4 separate regions of the Homo sapiens genome follow, and regions 2, 3 and 4 are each linked to region 1. Evidence: promoter capture Hi-C in 16 types of primary human blood cells and fetal thymus (Javierre and others, 2016). All regions are on one chromosome and are shown on one strand. The core of a region is centred on a gene start or on the middle of the fragment in contact, and the rest is flanking DNA. Distances in the headings are between cores, read along the strand shown.

Region 1 (2,774 bases), core at 183-2,682:
TGAACTACAGACTTCAGAAATGAGAGCTTCCCTTAAAGCAGGGATTTCATCCGGTGCATTACAATGACTCAGTACAATCTCACTTGCATCTTCTTCCCTCCCCACCATTCCCCGCAGGGGAAAGACCCCCGCAAGGAGAATGACAGGCCCACCTGGGGCCTAAACTCCATAGCTCAAACAAGGCTGGGCACTCATTTATCAGCACTAGAAACTTCGCACATCTTTTCCAGTCTAAGAACTACACAATTTACAGGTGGTTGGTATGTGAATCTCTCTCCTTGCAGGAAAAACTAAAGGAACCCGATGAACACAGTGACACCCGCAGTTTGTCAGCAGGACTCGCTAGCGATGGAGCGTCTGGGGAAGAAGCCCCACGGCGGAGGAAAAGGTACCCGAGACAACGACACGTTATCTGGGCTCCGGGGGTTGAAGCACCAGGCGACGACGCAGAGAGGCGTCGCACGAGAAGCCAGTGGACCTGCGACACGGCACTCCCCGTGAGGTCCCTTCAGCCACCCTCTCCATCCCCCAAGTGGGAAGAAGATGGGAGGTGGGGGCTGGACGCGCGGAGGCGGGGACTGGGGGGCCTGCCGGGCGGCGGTGGCGGCTCCGCTCGGCGGCCGCAGGAGGCCATTTTAGTTAAGGGGCCGCTGAAGGGCCCTGAGGCCTCCACGTCCCTACACCTCCGCCGTCTCTACCTCCCCCCTACTGGGGGCCGCTCCCCGCCGCGGGCCGGGCCGGGCCGGGCAAGGCGGGGCGGGGCGGGGCGGGGCGGGAGAGGCCGCCGGGCTGGGCCGGGCCAGGCCTGCAGCGGGCCGGGGCTCTGGGATGGCTGGGGACGGGCGCGGGGGCGTCGCATCGACAGGATCCGGACCGAGGGGAGAGCAAGGGGCGAACAGAGAGAAGGCAGGATGCCGTTACCTATATTGGGCCGCAGCCGCCGCCGCCGCCGCCCCGCTGTGGGTGAATCCAAAGTAGTTGCCGGTCGCCATTTTGGCATCTTCCCCCAGCCGGCTGGGCACTGCGGCGGGCACGAAGAGTCGGGTCCCATGGCGGGACAAGAGACACAGAGGAGCCGAGACGCCGAGGGAGGGCAGGGAGAGAAAGAGAGAGGCGCCGTGAGAGCAGCCCTGGCGGGGCCCAGGCCGCGGCCGCGCCGCCTCCCCCTCCCGCCTCGCACTCCCTCACTCACTCGCACGCCCGGGTGGCGGCCGCCGCCTCCTCCCCGGAGCCTGCCCCAACCCCCGCGGCTCCCCGCTGCCCGGGGCCAGGGAGGGGGCCGGGCAGAGGCCTCGCGGGCCACATTAGACTCACCATAGGTGAAAGAAACTACAGGGCATATGGGAATCATGGGCTCGGGCTGCTGCTGCTGAACTCTGAACTCTCACCCGCTGCCTCCCTCCTCTGCCCCGCTCCTCCTCAGCGGAGAACAGACCGCCGCCTCCGACCGCACTGCGCAGGCGCGCCTGTGCTCGGCATCCTGGGAGCTGTAGTCCCCGCCGTCTTCGCGGCTCCCCCGGGCGCGTGCCGGGGCCTCGGCGGTGCGGGCGCGGGGAAGCCCGCGGGGGAAGAGGGGCCTGGCCTTCTCCGAAGTGGTGGTGACGCCGCGCGGCCGCGGGGCGACGGGGGCGTGTGCCAGAAGCGCCTCGCCTGTCCTCTGGGGAGTCGGGGAGCGTGACCAGAGAGAGTGACGTCTGTTCGCCTTTTTCTTTGCTTTCCACTGGCTTCCTTAACTTTTGCATGTGCACTTATTCCCTGCCTCCCTGTCTTCCTCGCTCATTAATTTTTCATTGGAATTCGAGCTGGGCAATTTAGGATTTTTCCTTATTTCCTGCTTTCCCGCAGCTTTTCCCCAACCTCTGAAGTGCGGAGGGAGGGAGAAGGAGAGGAGAGAAATAGAAAAAGGATGGAGAGTGCTTTTCTGTTGGACTAAAAGCACACCCTAAACATCCCTCCCGGACATACCTCTTGCTATACCCTTTCCTCGACCTGCACCCACTCCCTGAGCCATCCGGCGTATATCGGTCACCCAGCAGGGTGTCAGGCAGTGTTGTAGGTGCTGGAGATACGGCAGAGAACAAAACAAAGTCCCTGTTCCCGTGGAGTTTACGTTCTAGGAGCGGGTATATGTCAGCCAACAGCCGGTAGCCAAAACACAGAAATTCTGTCTGATGGTGACTGGAGCTTCAAGCATAAATAAAGCAGAGTAAGGAAAATAAGGGTAAGGGAGGTGCTATTTCATGTAGAGTGTGGTTAGGGAGACCACTTGAAGGAAGGAAGGACAGGCCTGGGAGATGCCTGCAGGAAGAGCAGCAAGTGGAAGGGTCCAGATGAAGGAATGAATGTTCAAGAGCAAGAAGATCAGTCTGGCTGGAGTCAAGTGAGAGGGAGACCAGATCACGTGCCAGATCTTTAGTGGTAAGGACAGAACAGTACTTGCCCCCATGTAAGCATTTCCTCTTTCCCTCTGTTTCCTCGCTTTCTTCCCTTTAGTTTCTCAGTTCGTTTTCAACCATTCTCTTTCCTCTTCCAGTCCCTCTTCTGATCGTCTAGTTTCTCTGGCCTTATGTTTCGTGTCTTCCATCAAGTACATATGTACTGCCTGCATTTCACCTCTTCCTTACCTTCTCCATGCCCATCCCCCAGACTCCCTGCTCCTCATCTCTCCTCATTGTTGGATATGAACATTAAAAGGAAATGCTGGCCGGGCGCGGTGGCTCACGCCTGTAATCCCAACACTTTGGGCGGCCGAGGCGGGTGGATCACGAGGTGAG
Region 2 (3,127 bases), core at 89-2,588, 63 kb before region 1:
CTTAAGGTAGCATCAGTGTCACATGAGCCATTTGAGAGCTTGTTGGCACTTTAATATATCCACGGAGTTATTTTCAATAAATTTACATAATCCAATATGAGGAACAAAAGGTTAACTTATTAATTTAGTAATATAATAAACAATTTCTGGAAATATAAACCCTACCCACCAAAACGAAATCCGAAGGAAAGATTACTGGACACAGTGCACTAGCACAAAGACAACAAGACAAGAGGGAACACAAAAATCCACCTTAATGAGTATGTACAATAAACTACTGAGTTTGTTCAGTACTCTAAATGGTCGTAAGTTATTCTGGAGCTAATATAACAAAGAACTGATGATAAATATAGAATGCTCAATATAGTTACAGTTATAGGAAAAAAATGAAGAACCCAAAACAGGCATTTCTTTTTTTTTTTTTTTTTTTTTTGAGACGGAGTGTCACTCTGTCCCCCAGGCTGGAGTGCACGATCTCAGATCACTGCAACCTCGGCCTCCTGGGTTCAAGCGATTCTCCTGTCTCAGCCTCCCAAGTAGCTGGGATTACAGGTGTGCACCACCACACCAGGCTAATTTTTTGTATTTTTAGTAGAGACGAAGTTTCACCATGTTGGCCAGGCTGGTTTTTAACTCCTGACCTCAAGTGATACACCCGCCTCGGCCTCCCAAAGTGCTAGGATTACAGGCGTGAGCCACTGCGCCCGGCCCAAAACAGGCATTTCTAAAAGTTTAATGCTCTCCCTTCCGCATGAAAATTTTAGTTATCAGAGAGTATGAAATGCCCTTTAAAATTTAAAGTTCCCATAAAGTATTTCAAAAAATGATAAAAGAGAAACAATAGGCAAGCAGAACAGCGAATAGGAACTAGTATGGTTAAACAGAATTAAGAGTGGAAAAGATGCTGATCCTGTGACGATAGATGTGTAGGGTCTTTAAGCTGATTAAAACATAAATGAGCTACACAAAACTTGAGAATATATGAAACTAAACCAGGACAAGAAGTTAACTTTACATTAATATATCATTCATAAAAGTAGACAAAGGGCTATCTTTATATCCATCTAAACATCTGTAAAATGTGTATATTAACAGCAAATCTGCTAATCAAGCTATTAGTAAGCAAATGGCAATTATTCCAATCTAATTCACAGCTCTCAGTGATTTAAATAGTATGAATATTTTCTCAATATAGAAAAATTATATAATCTATTAAATATAATAGTCCTTTGGAAATTATGGGGCATTTAGAATACAGTTTAATAATCGAATATATAAAATGAATATGGACGAAAAAATACATGATAAAAGTATGAAAAAGTTAATTATCTTAAGAGTACTAGCTGCAGTTCTGGTCAAGTTACTCATATCTCATAAGCATTCAGATATCTTAAAGGATAACTTGTTCTTATTTTGAGTAGATGACATATAAAAAACATATTTTGAAACTGATAGAGAATTCTATTCTCTAAGGTTTCTTTTTCTTAGTTTTTTACTCCTCGAGTAATCAGATGGACACAGATTCTTCAGAAGACACATTTAGAGGAAAGACAGATAATCAAGGAAAACTGTGTGACATTTTGAGAATAAATACTAAAAGAGGAATTTGGTGCTAAAAAGAAGTTATCAAGACAAAAATATTAGTTCTCTCAAAACTTATAAGACCAACTATTGAACCTAGAAATAACCTGAACATAAGAAATGAACTATTCTGTCAGGAATAGATAAAGAAAAGGGACACAAGAGACAGCTAACTATGAAGTTTTAAAAAAGAAAAAAGGGCCAGGTGCAGTGGCTCATGCCTGTAATCCTAGCACTTTGGGAGGCTGAGGCAGGTGGATCATCTGAGGTAGGGAGTTCGAGACCAGCCCGGCCAACATGGTGAAACTCCATTCCTACTCAAAAATACAAAAATTAGCTGGGTGTCGTGGCACATGCCTGTGGTCCCAGCTCCTCAGCTACTTGGGAGGCTGAGGCATGAGAATTGCTTGAACCTGGGAGGTGGAGGTTGCAGTGAGCCGAGATTGTGCTGCTGCACTCCAGCCTGGGTGACAGAGTGACTGTCTCAAAAACAAAGCAAAACAAAACCAAACCCCTCACACACACAAAAAAGAAAAAGCTGACTTCCCCAAAGCAGTATTATAACATGCTAAAGAACCTCTTTCTATGTCCCTTATTTACTTACATTTGCTAAAGCTAGAATGCAAATAGGTGACAATGTGCAATCTCTAAAATGTTTCTAAATTTCTAATGTTAATTCACAATTTTATTTCCTCCGATATGCAAGAAAATTTTGTTTTGCACATAAGCATTCATAACTTTGGAAATTGTAATTCATGATATAAATTCAAAGATGCCAAGACACCTATTGCAATTTTTTTTTCTTTGAGATGGAGTTTCACTCTTGTCGCCCAGGCCAGAGTGCAATGGCATGATCTCGGCTCACTGCAACCTACACCTTCTGGGTTCAAGCAATTCTCCTGCCTCAGCCTCCCAAGTAGCTGGGATTATAGGCACTCACCACCACGCCCAGCTAATACCTATTGCAATTTAAAAACAAATTACAGCTATAAGTAGAAAATTTTTGTTAAATTTAGTGTGGATTTTTGTACCCATTTTCTATTTCAAGTAGATTAACCCCTTATATTCTGCTAAAATCATACTTGTTGCCTAACACCCAGTTAACAAAGCAAAAAAAAATCAGTTAATTTATAAAAACAAAATGCTAATTCTTATTCTATGTGAATGTATTTCATAGATTTTAAGGGGTTAATCACCAATTAGAAGACATGCTGTGTCCACACTATTTTAAGATTAAACGTTAATGGGAATATATTAATTCAAATTAACATGGTCATGTAAAATATATAACCCACTCAACCATTTAAAAACTAGTGTGAACACTGCTCAATTCTAGAAGAGACAAAGACAAAACAAACAAAACAGCCACACAAAGGACAATAAATGCCAGGCTCTGCATCCAAAATCCCTCCTTTATCAAATGGCAGATGTGACACTGAGCTTTTGAAAACCTTGGTCAAAAATCCTTCCGATGTCTTGGCAGCAACCCCTGACAGGATCAATCCCCTCTGCTAGAAGGCTTTGGACCGGGCCTGATAAGCTACAG
Region 3 (2,926 bases), core at 311-2,810, 37 kb before region 1:
AAGGCTGGGAGTTGAATCCATTAATTTTAATAAATAGAATCATGTCATAATCACCCGTTTTAATGTTTAGCAACCAGAAACAATACAATACCGAAAAAGGAATAAGGGTTTTACATTTACATGCCTCACTAATTGGTATTTTTGAAAAAGACACTTCTTTACACCTTCCTTGTTCCCGAAGTTCCTACTCCCCTTATGAGATTACAGAAATAACTAACATACTATAAAGTATATATCAAAGTCAGTCTCATTAGAAATGCAATCCTGAAAATTATAGATTATCAGTAACCTGCTATATTAAGTTAAAGAATTTTGAATAAAGGCTTTGGCAAGTAAGTTACAGATGCTAAAAACACAACGAAATAAAAATTCAATCTTACCCAAGTCGCAATTAATTTGACTACAAAATTTTAAAACTAAATTTAAGTTTTAAAGAACAAAGTCTCTTTCCGGAAAAAAAAGCTCAATTTGCCTATTTATCATTTACAGTCACAATCATCTTTACAGTTTTTTTTTCCCTGAAAATTCTCATGCCACAATACAAGTAACTTAAAAAATGCACTGGCTAAAAGCTAACAGGAAAAAATGTAAACCTCTTTTAGTAGGCTCAGGAGTTAGAATACCAACTACACTTAATAACCACTGAAGACTCAAGGTAAAACATACAACGTAAGTACCTGTGGTCCAGCACAGCTGATCTTACAAACATCACAATAGTGAATCTGTGGTGGTTTGGGAGGCTGTTTTGGTTTCAGTTGTTTATTTTGGAATGGTGCTTTTTTAGTAAAGGTGGTCCCTGTCCAGGCAGCTGTTGCAGCAGCAGCAGCAGCTGCTGCTGCTGCCTGCTTCTGTTGCTGCTGCTGCTGTTGATAGTAGGAAGATGCAGCTGAATACACTGCTGCTTCATAACCTGAATAAGACGTACCTTACAAATAAAAATCAAACAAAAATTATGTTACATACTTATAGAAGGACAAGTTAAAATTTACAAATTTAAATTAAATTAATCCTGCCAATAAAGATAGATTTACATGTGCATATTTACAAACGTATATCTCACAGAACCAGAAAAAAGCTTATTTTCCTTCTAAGAAAGTCATCAACTAGTATTTACTCAATATATGCCAGGTGTTATAGAGGTATAAAGACAGTGTAAAATTTGGTCCCTGCCTTGAAGAACCTTATAGTTTAATTGGAGAGATGTGATAGTGTGTTTGACAAACTTGTCTGTTTATAGAATCTGCTAATATGTCCCCAAATAAAATCCTGTGAACAAAATTTAGGAAGTGTTGGATTTGAGGAAGAATCTGAAGTAGGATACTAGATAGGAAAAACAAAAACTCATGAAAGTAAGATTTGACATGCTTGGTAGCTAAGAGGACAAAAGAGATAAAAGAAGAGGAAAACATACAAATGTGACACTAAAATCTGGAGCCCCAGTGATCAACTGATGGGCTGTGCAACTGCTAGAATCAAGAAGCTGACAGATGCTAGTCTGGGGAGGCAAGGTAAATAAAGTTTAGCAGAAGTTTGTGATGTGGAACTGAAGTTCAGATGAAAATATAGAACAACTGTTAAAGATTTAGGAATTAGGGACCAATACATTGGTTCTCATCTTCCAAAAGATGAAAAAGCATTGTGTTTTCTGGTTAAATGTATGAATTCTACCCATTTCCATTGTTCAGAGACTCCAGTGAATAAGTACATTATGCAAGCTGTTTATATAATATATACATGTTGCTTATGTTCAGTGATTTACAGATTTTTAATCTGTGAACGTGGAGACGGGGTTTCGCCACGTTGCCTAGGCCAGACACAGACACAGCCTTGTATCTGTTTTCCTACAATGCTTTTTATAAGAAATGTACATTTGTTTGCCAGTAGTTATAGGAGAATTTAAGATGCCCTTTAACAGAGTTCCAGAATCTTTAGCCCACCTTTCAGTGCATGCTTTATTTTTATAACTAAGTAGTAAGTTATAACTAAACTTGCCTTTTATTAGTTTTACACTACCTATGTGCAAGTAGAGATTATTTTATGAATATTAAGCTTAACTTGGTGATTTTTATGGTTAAATTTGATCAGTGTTTAAAGGATACTGCAATTTCTAAACCTAATTTTTCTCATATTTAAGGATAGTGATACTTACCTTATAGATCTGTTCTAAAAACTACACTGTGTCTGGCATACTGCTTCCTGTATTGTGAACGTTTGATTAAAAAAAAAAAAAAAAAAAAAAAACTAGAAGAACTATTCTTTCAGCACTGTTGGCCTCTGTTGTCCTTATTCTGCTTCATATTTTCTTAATAGATAATTCATAAAGTTACATTTCTGTGGCATTTGTATAGTTTCTATATAGAAGAACTGAAGTCATTTGGAAAATATCTGTTATAAAGATATTATGTAAAAATCATGATCCTACTTGGTAATAAATCTAAAAACATCTTCATTATTGGTAACTGGACAATTTTATGGCATTTCTCTACAGTAAAATTTAAACTATACATGTTTTTGCCTGTAAGCTTGAAAACATTTGGCTGTGAGCTTGTGTTCTTTTATCACATTCGTAAGTAATAGAGGACGTTTGTAGGACTGCCCAGTAGAGTTTATTAGTTTATAGAAATTTTGTTTTAAGCAATTATCTCAACTGTTTTCTCAATTTTATCTGATCATATACATGCTTTATCACTGATATACAGCTACCTGTTTCTATTTTCATTTCAGATGTTTTCTTGTCTATTATCACACTTTCTATCTTAAAACTTTATATACTATAGTAGCCTAACATAAAAGTCTAAGAAGGCTTTTCTCAAAAGTTGCCTGACTACTTTTCTCCTGGATATGTCTGGTTTTCCACGCATTTTAGCTCTCACCATTCCAATTTATTTTTCCTTCCCTATGTGTACAGACATATTGGAGTTAGGGG
Region 4 (2,763 bases), core at 258-2,757, 53 kb after region 1:
TGACTGTAAAATGTTAACTAAGTGCAGGGCCCTTCTCTGTACAGAAATGTGCAACTGTGCAGGTCACACACCCATGAAACCTACTGGACTCCTGCTCTGGAGAATTGATAATACCTTGTAAATTGTAGGGTTCTTTGGAGGATCTGTTAGTCCCAGCTCAGTTTCCATCTTGGATCTTATGTTTCTCCCGTCGGCTTTCTTTCATAGATTTTATTCTCCCTCTGATTTCTGACACTGAAAATCCAAGATTAGAGCTCTCTCAAAAGTGCCTCAGAGCCCGTCTTCCTGTTTTTGACATGAAACAGCCACTTTCCTGGATTAACTTCATGCTAGATGAAGTCATGCAATATGGTTAGTGTGGAAGACAGGGTTTTGTTGTTGTTGTTTTAAATTTGTTAGCTGTAATGAACTCATATGCTGCTCCATAGGTCCCCGGCTGTCCTTTTTTTGTCTTCTGAGTTTTGTTCCGCCTTAGTCTAGGGGTTGAGGAAGCTGTTTAGGTCAGGCCCACAGAAATTCTGGCCATGGGCTACTGCATGGTCCAAGTGAGAAATAATGGCAACTGGGATGGGGAAGAAGCCTTGGAGATAGAAAAGGGCTGATTCAAGAGAGAGGGAAAATGTACAATCAATAGGAGTAGGTTGAATTGAATAAGAGAAACAAGGGTATCAAGGATTTCCAGCTTGAATAGAACATTGTTCCTCTTGTTCATGTGCTGGATCAATGTTTAATGAATTTCCCCCATGTACCAGGCACTGTTAGACTGTTTCAGATATTTAACCCCTTCCCCCTTCATCACTATTGTTATTATTTTTGAGACAACGTCTCACTCTGTCACCCATTCTGGAGTGCAGTGGCGCGATCTCAGCTCACTGCAACCTCTGCTTCTCGGGTTCAAGTGATTCTCCTGCCTCAGTCTCCCAAGTAGCTGGGATTACAGGCATGCACCACCATGCCCAGGCTAATTTTTTTACTTTTAGTAGAGACGGGGGTTTCACCACGTTGGCCACACTGGTCTCGAACTCCTGACCTCAAGTGACCTGCCCACCTCTGCCTCACAAAGTGCTGGGATTACAGGCATGAGCCACTGCACCCGGCCTGATCAGGTGATGGATCTTAAGACTCTCCCATGAGAGGGCTCCCACCCTATACCATGGGGGAAAGAATGTTGATGTCATGAAGCTTCTGTAAAAACCCAAGAGGACATGGATCAGTGAACTTCCGGGTAGCTGAGCTCCTGGAGGTTCCTGGAGGGTGGCGCTTAGGGAGGACATGGAAACTCTGCGCCGCTTCCCTAATATCTCACCCTGTGCATCTCTTCTCGTGTATCCTTTACTATATCCTTAATAATAAACCAGTAAATGTGTTTCCCTGAGTTCTATAAGCCGCTCCAGCAAATTTATTGAACCCATATAGGGGGGTCATGGGAACCCCAACTTGAAGCTGGTCAGTAAGAGGTTCTGGAGGGCCGACCTTGCAACTGGTGTGTGTTAGTGGGGGTTCAGGAGGCAGTCTTAGGGACTGAGTCCTCAGCTTGTGGGATCTGACACCATCTCTGGGCAGACACGGTTGGAACTGAATGAGAAGACCCTCCCTGGTGTCCGTTGCTTGGTGTGTGGGGAAAAAGCCCCATATATTTGGTCACAGAAATCTTCTGTGTTGATGATTGTTGTGGTGTGAGAGTAGAGGAAAAACATGGTTTCAGGAGAGTTTTTCCCTACACAGTTTGATACACTGAACGTCCCTAATTTTGGTGAACACCCTTAAAATTAGTGCTTTTGGGGGAAGAAGGGACTAGATTGATGAGTTTTTCAAGGAATAAAGAGAAGAAAAGAAGCTTAAGAAGCTTTTTCTTGGCCGAGCATGGTGGTCCCATGCCTGTAATCCCATCATTCTGGGAGGCAGAAGGATTCCTTGAGGCTAGGAGTTTGAGACCAGCCTAGCCAACAAAGCGAGACTGCCGCCTGCCTCCAATCTCTACAGCAAAAAAAAAAATTAGTGGGGTATGGTGGCGTGTGCCTGTAGTCCTAGCTAATTGGGAGGTTGCGGTGGGAAGAGTGCTTGAGCCCAGGAGTTTGAGGCTGCAGTGAGCTGTGATTGCATCACTGTATTCCCACCTGGGTGACATGATGAGACCCCCGTCTCAAAAACAAACAGGCTGGGCGTGGCGGCTCACACCTGTAATCTCAGCACTTTGGGAAGCCAAAGCAGGTGGATCACTTGAGGTCAGGGGTTCAAACCAGCCTGGCCAACATGGTAAAACCCCATCCCTACTAAAAATACAAAAATTAGCTGGGTGTGGTGGCACGCACCTGTATTCCTAGCTACTGGGGAGGCTGAGGCATGAGAATGTCTTGAACCTGGGAGACAGAGGTTGCAGTGAGCCGAGATTGCACCATGCACTCCAGCCAGGGCAACAGAGTGATACTCCATCTCAAACAAACAAACAACAACAACAACAAGAATCTTTTATTCATGGAACCCAATAGAAAAGGTGGAGAGACATAAAAAAAAAAATTAAATTCTACAGAGGTATCCACCTATGCCTGTGCCCAGTCTGTCATCCAGCAGTTTGGTTTCAGTGTTTAGTGATTACCTCTGTGTGTCTAAATACTATGTTTACACTGCTTGCTATTTCCTGGTTTATCATCTTTAGACATTATCTCTTGACTTCCTCTTGTGAAAGATAAGGATTTAACTTGCTCACAAAGATAAGGATTTAACTTGCTCACACTCCTGTCCCAGTAAAGCTATATCATTATT

The links. The method cuts DNA at HindIII sites, captures the fragments that hold promoters and counts their contacts. A CHiCAGO score of 5 or more calls a contact.
Region 2: a contact is called between a fragment that was not itself captured here and the fragment with the promoter of ZFR in region 1, in 2 of 17 cell types (activated CD4 T cells and total B cells). The highest score is 5.4, in activated CD4 T cells.
Region 3: a contact is called between a fragment that was not itself captured here and the fragment with the promoter of ZFR in region 1, in 9 of 17 cell types (total B cells, activated CD4 T cells, naive B cells and 6 more). The highest score is 9.2, in total B cells.
Region 4: a fragment that was not itself captured here is called in contact with the fragment with the promoter of ZFR in region 1 in 3 of 17 cell types (activated CD4 T cells, total B cells and naive B cells); the score reaches 6.4 in activated CD4 T cells.

What each region holds. Positions count from the first base shown.
Region 1 is chr5:32,443,308-32,446,081 of GRCh38, forward strand. It overlaps ZFR (zinc finger RNA binding protein), which reads right to left and starts at 1,433. Exons shown (of 20, transcript NM_016107.5): 1 at 1,315-1,433; 2 at 922-1,021. The coding sequence starts at 1,351. RefSeq lists silencers at 476-815, 1,046-1,735 and an enhancer at 527-1,084. The HindIII fragment of the contact is 7,512 bases long and covers 1-2,774 here.
Region 2 is chr5:32,380,240-32,383,366 of GRCh38, forward strand. The region is part of intron 15 of ZFR (zinc finger RNA binding protein); the gene reads right to left. Among named protein-coding and RNA genes, the nearest start is that of MIR579, 13 kb to the right of the region's middle. The HindIII fragment of the contact is 3,735 bases long and covers 1-3,127 here.
Region 3 is chr5:32,406,097-32,409,022 of GRCh38, forward strand. It overlaps ZFR (zinc finger RNA binding protein), which reads right to left. Exons shown (of 20, transcript NM_016107.5): 6 at 678-925. Among named protein-coding and RNA genes, the nearest start is that of MIR579, 13 kb to the left of the region's middle. The HindIII fragment of the contact is 974 bases long and covers 1,074-2,047 here.
Region 4 is chr5:32,496,005-32,498,767 of GRCh38, forward strand. No RefSeq gene overlaps it. Among named protein-coding and RNA genes, the nearest start is that of ZFR, 53 kb to the left of the region's middle. The HindIII fragment of the contact is 655 bases long and covers 1,181-1,835 here.